2 separate regions of the Homo sapiens genome follow, and region 1 is linked to region 2. The links are contacts of gene promoters, found by promoter capture Hi-C in human tissues and cell types (Jung and others, 2019). All regions are on one chromosome and are shown on one strand. The core of a region is centred on a gene start or on the middle of the fragment in contact, and the rest is flanking DNA. Distances in the headings are between cores, read along the strand shown.

Region 1 (3,436 bases), core at 620-3,119, 190 kb before region 2:
GTTCAAGTGATTCTCCTGCCTCAACCTCCCGAGGAGCTGGGATTACAGGCCCATGCTACCATGCCCTGATAATTTTTGTATTTTTTAGTAGAGACAGGGTTTCGCCATGTTGGCAAGGCTGGTCTCGAACTCCTGACCTCAGGTGATCCGCCCGTCTTGGCCTCCTCAAGTGCTGGGATAACAGGCGTGAGCCACCGCACCTGGTTGGACCCCCACTATTTCATGTGTTCCCTAGCCCTCTTAGCCTCCCTTATTTTTCACCTGAGTCCTTAGCTTCAGTTTATCACTTTTTCTGTTTCTTGTCCACTCTCCTAGAATGAGAGCATCCTGGGTATCTAATGGAGGCTGAGAGCAGTGTTTTGTGACTGTAGCTAAGTGGCTTTGGCAAGTATCTTCCTCAGGCAGGGAGGTTTAGTTGCAGGATAAGAGGGTCTCAGGAGGGCTGGGCACGGTGGTTCATGCCTGCAATCCTAGCACTTTGGGAGGCTGAGATGGGCGGATCACTTGAGGTCGAGTTTGAGACTAGCCTGGGCAACATGGTGAAATCTTGCCTCTACTAAAAATACAAAAATTAGCTGGGTGAAGTGGAGCGCGCCTGTAACCCCAACTACTCGGGAGGCTGAAGCAGAAGAATCACTTGAACTTGGGAAGGAGAGGTTGCCCTAAGCCAAGACCACGCCACTGTGCTCCAGCCTGGGTGACAGGGTGAGACTATGTCTGGGGGAAAAAAAAAGCAAGAGGGCTTGGGGAGCCAAATCACGTGTTCTGGAATCCTGACTCTGCCATATCCTAGCTGTGTAGTTTTGGGTAAGCGACCCAACTTCTCTGTGTCTCGGTCTCCTCCTCTGTAAAGTAGGATGAGCTGATGTGCTCATCTCCGGTGAGAATTAGGTGAGTGTGTGCAGTGCCAGCACATGTCTGGGAAGTGAATGCTAGCTGTTGTTGGCATTGATTCCGACTCAGCTGAATTAGAGTCACTGGTTTTCCATGAGGGATGATCCCTTGTCTGACTGACTGAGGCAGGCACTTCGGGTGGGGCCCCTCCCTGCCTGGGTCCCCCACCCGCCCCACTCCTAGCCCCTGCTCACAGGCTGAGGTCGCAATTGATGCTGGTCTGCAGCAGGTAGGCCTTGGCGTTCTGCACGGCCAGCTCCAGAGGCTCGGGCTCAGGCACCTGGGCACTGTAGTGTGGGAAGCCCAGCTCAGAGGGCAAGAACTGAAGGGCAGGGTCATCCCTTATGTAAGGCCCGTGCTGGGCACCTTCAGAGAACTGGTCTGTCTGGTAGAGGTTGAACTGGCCCAAGGGGTTGACTGGGGGCTCCTGGAAGGTGGGGTCCAGTTGCTGGAACAGGCTGCTTTGGCCCTGCTGGAGCCGCTGCAGCATTAGGCTGGTGGTGAGCTCGGCGACCTGCATCCTGCTTTCATCAGAGTAAGGCTGAGGCTGGAACTCTGAGGGAAAGCCCGTGTTCACAGATGGGTACTCCATGCCACCCAGCCGGGCTTCCTCAGCCTGGAAGACCTGGGGCATCAGCAAGTTCTCCTGTTGGGACAGGCTGCCCCTCTGTGACCAACCAGGGGCGTTTCGCTGGGCGTCTGGAGGTATCTGCTGCCTCTCCTCGGGGTCCGCTGCCAGGGCCTGAGCTTGGTCCCGACTGTGCCGCCTCTGGGAGGCCTGAGAAGTCCTCCGGCCCGGAGGCTGCTGGGCAGGGCGCTCAGGGTAGGGCGGCAGGTCTCCCATGGTTCGCCAGGAGGCACAGATCTCTAGGAGAAAGGCTTGCAGACAAGGAGGCCAAGCGAGAGCCACCTGTCGACACCGCCGGTTTCTGAGCACCGAGAGAGGGGGCCGTTACCCGTGGAGGGCGCGGGGAGCGGGCCAGGGTGGGTTCCGCGCAGGCTCTGGGCGCGCACTCCCGATCCCGCGCAGCCCCACGGTGGACGTCGCGCCAGACTCGAGACGGCACCCGCGCCCCAGGCCCGCCATCCCTTTTTTTTTTTCTTTTCAGTAACTTGCCCAAGTTCACATCTTTTATTTCTTTTTAAGGCAAAGCACCCGCAGGTCAAGCCCCGCCCCGTCCCCCAGCCCCGAGTCCCTGTCCCACCCCCTTTCCCCCTCGAGCCCCGTCAGCTGTTCCCCTTGGCCTCGGGTTCCCTGGCGTCCTCGGCAGCCGGGCTGGGAGTCTTCATAGCATCTTCTCCAACAGGTGCGAGGGTCTGGGGGCTCCGCTCCTCCTTCAAGGTCAGCCCGCCCGCTGCCGTCTCCTGGTGACCGGGGAAGGAAAGGGCAGCCGGGTGGAGGGCGCGGTCACCTCCACGCTCCCCTTCAGGCCCTGCCCCCTGATGGCCCCTCCTCCCCCACCTTCACCCCGGCCCAGATCCGGCTTCTTCCTTCGCAGCGGAGGCTGCTCTCCCTACCTTGGGTAGGGGGCCCTCGAGACTAGAGTCCAACAGCGCGGCCTCGGTCAGCCCCGAGTCGTCATCCATGCTGATGAAGATGCCCGGGGTCTCGCACTCAGGCCCCTCCTCCCGGAAATCCATGGCTTCCTCAGACGGGGGCGGGCCTGGCCGGGCCGACGGAGAGGGAGAGGGGGAGGAAGAGGAGGGGGCTCCCACTCCTCCCGGCTTCAGCTTCTGTTCCTCCTCCAGCTGCCGCTTTAAGGCCTTCTCCTGGGCCAGTCGCAGGCCGATGAGGTCCTGAGGGGGCCGGGGTGCTGGGGCCGGGGCCAAGGTCAGGGGCTCCAGATCATCCTGGGGATAGGGAGGGCCACACAGAAGCTCAGAGGTGGGTGGCTCAGAGGACGGCCGGAAAGAGAAGGAACCACCCTGAGGTGGTCTTTGAGTTCTTCACCAAGAGCATGGGGAGGAAGGGGCAGTTGTCCCCCAGACCCCCAACTCCCAGCAGGAGCATCCCCTGGGAGACGGGTGGCCCAGAGGCAGGGGTGGCCTGAGTCTCTCGGGGTCAGGAGGAGGCCATGGTGAGCCTTGCTGGCTTGGGGTAGGGGGTGGGAGTCTGGGGATCCAGATGGGTGGGCTGCAGGGCCCTCACCTCCTCCAAGGGCCCCGCAGGCGCCTCCTTGGCCTCTGGCTCCTGCTTGCCGCTGGCCTCCAAGATGGTCATGATGGAGTTAGGGATGTGAGCTTGCTGGGTGGAGAGCAGGAAGGGGGCGCTGGGGGCAGCTCTGGCACAGAGACCCCATTTGCACACCTCAGGTCCGGGGGCCCTAACCCTCCAGAACTCCCAGCAGTGCAGGGCCTTCTTGTGTCCGCCTCCATCCAGTCCCCACCAACCAGAGGGACCCAGGGGGCCGCCCACCGCACACCCTGGGTGGGGGGAAAGGGTACCTGGTGGGGGGAAGGGGTACCTGGTGGGGGGTGAAGGAGCGGACATGGGCCAGCAGGGGCTCCCGGAGCTCTGGGCACTTGTCAAAGACGGCTCCCA
Region 2 (3,201 bases), core at 330-2,829:
CCTCCGTGTGGCAGTGGCGGGTGCTGTGGCAGCTCCTCCTCTCCTCTCCTGACAGAGTAGTGAGTCAGTCACCCTGGACCTGCTGACCTACACAGACCTGGAGTCCCTGCGGAACCGCAAGATGGGGGGCCGCCCAGGCTCCTTGGCCCCCAGGTCGGCCCAGCTCAACTCCAAGCGCTACCTGATCCTCATCTACTCCGTGGAGTTTGACAGGTGGGGAGAAGGGTCTGGCTCCAGGGCCAGGCTGGTGGGCGGGGTGGGAGAGGATGTGGGTAGGCCTTAGGAACCCCTGGCACCCAGGCAAGGTGATATTGGTTAAGCCTTGCCTTGGGAATCTTCCCTGTTGGGGTTTGTATCATTTAGTATTGTGTTTGGCTACAAGTAGCAGAATAACCATCACCAGTGCCCTAAACAAACAATACATCAAACAAATAATACGTCACGTAACAAGATGTCTAGGTAGGTGTCTGCCACCTGTTTAACAGTTCCACTAGGGACTCAAGCTCTTTCTTTTTTATTTTTTTCCTTTTACTGTCGTTAATGTGTTGGCTTTTTTTTTTTTTGAGATGGAGTCTCACTGTCTCATCCAGGCTGGAGTGCAGTGGTGTGATCTTGGCTCACCGCAACCTCTCCCTCCCAGGTTCAAGCAATTCTTGTGCCTCAGCCTCCAGAGTAGCTGGGACTACAGGCACCCACAACCACGCCTGGCTAATTTTTGTATTTTTAGTAGAGACGGGGTTTTGTCATGTTGCCCAGGCTGGTCTTGAACTCCTGGCCTCAAGTGATCCTCCTGCCTCAGCCTCTCAAAAGTACTGGGATTACAGGCATGAGCCACCACGCCCGGCTTGGCCTTTTGACTTCATCTTTATCTCTTCATGGCCACAAAATAGCTGCTGGATCCTCCAGACATTGCATCTATATCAAGGCAGGAAGAAGAGGGACAGGGCTGAGTTTGTTAATTGCCTTTGCTGTTTTTATCAGGAAAAAAAAAAGTGTTCCCAGAAGACTCCCAACAGATTTCCTGTAATATGTGGCCAGAGGTGGTCACATGCAAGGGATGCTGGGAAAATGAATATCTGGCTTTCTAGCCTTTATAGGGGGAGGGTAGCAAGAGAGTTGGGAATGGCAGTTGTGTAGCTAGGTGACCGTGTCTGTCCCATGTGTTAGTAGCCACTGGATTTCTTAGTGGAAAGTTACCAATCCTCTGTGAATAGCATCTCATGGGGCCGTTAATCACAATGGCTCACCTTTCCCCAGCCAAGCCAGGGTCACCCAGGCCAGGCCAACCAGAATGCCCCGCTGTGGCATCTGAATTAGGATTGCGTTTGGCTGCAAGTAACATGATACCAGCATTCCCTTCATCAGCAGTGGGTGACAAGGAAGTTCCCCCAGACTACACCAGGGCTGCCAATCCCAGTGGTCCCCAAATTGTTATATAAGAGGCTTTCACAGGTGGTGACTGGAACAAGGGGTCCGGGTACAGGGAGGGGCCTTGAGGATGTGCTCATAAGCCTCTAGGACAGTGCAGTTTTTGGAATTGTGTGTTTTCGTACTCTGTGGCTCTCAGAGGCTGCTGTTTACCCTCAGGTGCATTCTTGGCCTCTGAGATGCCACGGTTTTAATCCTCCCTCCTCAGGATTCACTACCCGCTGCCCCTCCCGTACCAGGGCAAGCCAGACCCCGTGGTTCTGCAGGGCATCATCCGGTCACTGAAGGAGGAACTGGGCCGCCTGCAAGGGCTGGATGGCCAGAACACTCGGGACACCCGGGAGAATGAGATCTGGCATCTGCGGGAGCAGTGAGTCTTGGAGGGGTGGGCAGCTGGGGCGGGTGGGGGCCCTCCCATCATGCACCGCGGGGCCCATGCTCGGTCCTGTGGGGAGGATGACTGTCCTTCGCCCACCACGTATTCTTTTTTTTTTGAGACAAGAGTCTCACTCTGTTGCCCAGGCTGGAGTGCAGTGGTGCGATCTTGGCTCACTGCAGCTTCCTTCTCCCGGGTTCAAGCGATTCTCCTGTCTCAGCCTCCCAAGTAGCTGGGATTACAGGCACGCGCCACCATGTCCGGCTAATTTTTGTATTTTTAGTAGAGAAGGGGTTTTGCCATGTTGGCCAGGCTGATCTCAAACTCCTGGCCTCAAGTGATCTGCCCGCGTTGGCCTCCCAAAGTGCTGGGATTACAGGCATGAGCCACTGCGCCCGGCCTCTGAGCCCCTCTTCTGTACCTTTGTGCTGGGTGGTGCTGGGGACATAGTGGTGACCAAGACTATCTTGGCACTGCCCTCCTGGGACTCTGAGTCCAGGGAGGGAGGCAGATGTGTTTGCAGACAGTGAAGGCTCTGGGTGGGGTACCTGACCCTGCCTGGTACGGGAGGGGTGTTCTTGGCAAAGGGAGCAGCATGTGCAAAGGTTGGGGGGAGGTCGAGCTCTATGTAGGCGAATCCACCTTCATGGGGTGCACCTTTTGTGCTAGCCCCTCCCTGCCACTCACGTAGTGCCCAGCCCTGGGGGAGATGGGTGCTAAGTATATAACCACTTGAGTATATCATTACAGATGGAGATGAGTAGGGCAGGAAAGGGAGCCTGTGCTGTGGGAGGCTGTCACAGGACTCCACTGGGGTGTAGGGTGGGTCAGGCCCAGGGGCTGGGGAAGTGTTGTAGGCAGAGGGAACAGCCTGGGCAAAGTCCTTGTGTTAGGTGGGAATGCGGTGAGAACAAGGGAATGAATGAAGTGAAAGAAGCAAAGGCCTTTGGCATATATATTCATGCCTGCCTTGTGCTTGGTTCTGTTGGGGAGACGAATCTGGGGCTTGATCGCTACCGGGAAGAGGCCTGGCTCGTTGGGGAGGACTAATAATATTTTTAGTAATAATGTTACCAGTAACTAATGTTTATTGAACATTTAACTGTATGCCAGGGCTGCTCTGTGCTTTATGATTAAATTCATTTTATCCTCACAGCCACCCTACAAGGTAGGCACTGCTATTATCACCGTTTGACAGAGGCCCAGAGAAGTTAGGGAACTTGGCGCAGGTCACACAGTGGGTAATATGGCTAGGCTGGACCTTAGATCCAGGCAGCCAGCGCCGAGCCTCTGTTGTTTCCCCAGCTGTTTGCACTGTTGGTGGCTGCAAGCCCAGGACAGAGCGCTAAGTGCTGACCCGGAGGACCAGTCCTTATGGGAGCTCATGGGGCTGGGGA

What was found. The method cuts DNA at HindIII sites, captures the fragments that hold promoters and counts their contacts. A contact is called where the count stands out against the background at its distance.
Region 1: a contact is called between the fragment with the promoter of RSPH6A here and a fragment that was not itself captured in region 2, in 1 of the 25 tissues and cell types used here (hippocampus).

The regions. Positions count from the first base shown.
Region 1 is chr19:45,813,439-45,816,874 of GRCh38, forward strand. RSPH6A (radial spoke head 6 homolog A) reads right to left here and starts at 1,870. Exons shown (of 6, transcript NM_030785.4): 1 at 1,089-1,870. The coding sequence starts at 1,738. SYMPK (symplekin scaffold protein) reads right to left here. Exons shown (of 27, transcript NM_004819.3): 24 at 3,360-3,436; 25 at 3,044-3,139; 26 at 2,413-2,745; 27 at 1,972-2,259. The coding sequence ends at 2,122. The HindIII fragment of the contact is 35,300 bases long and covers 1-3,436 here.
Region 2 is chr19:46,006,504-46,009,704 of GRCh38, forward strand. CCDC61 (coiled-coil domain containing 61) reads left to right here. Exons shown (of 14, transcript NM_001267723.2): 4 at 56-213; 5 at 1,637-1,798. Among named protein-coding and RNA genes, the nearest start is that of MIR769, 11 kb to the right of the region's middle. The HindIII fragment of the contact is 8,240 bases long and covers 1-3,201 here.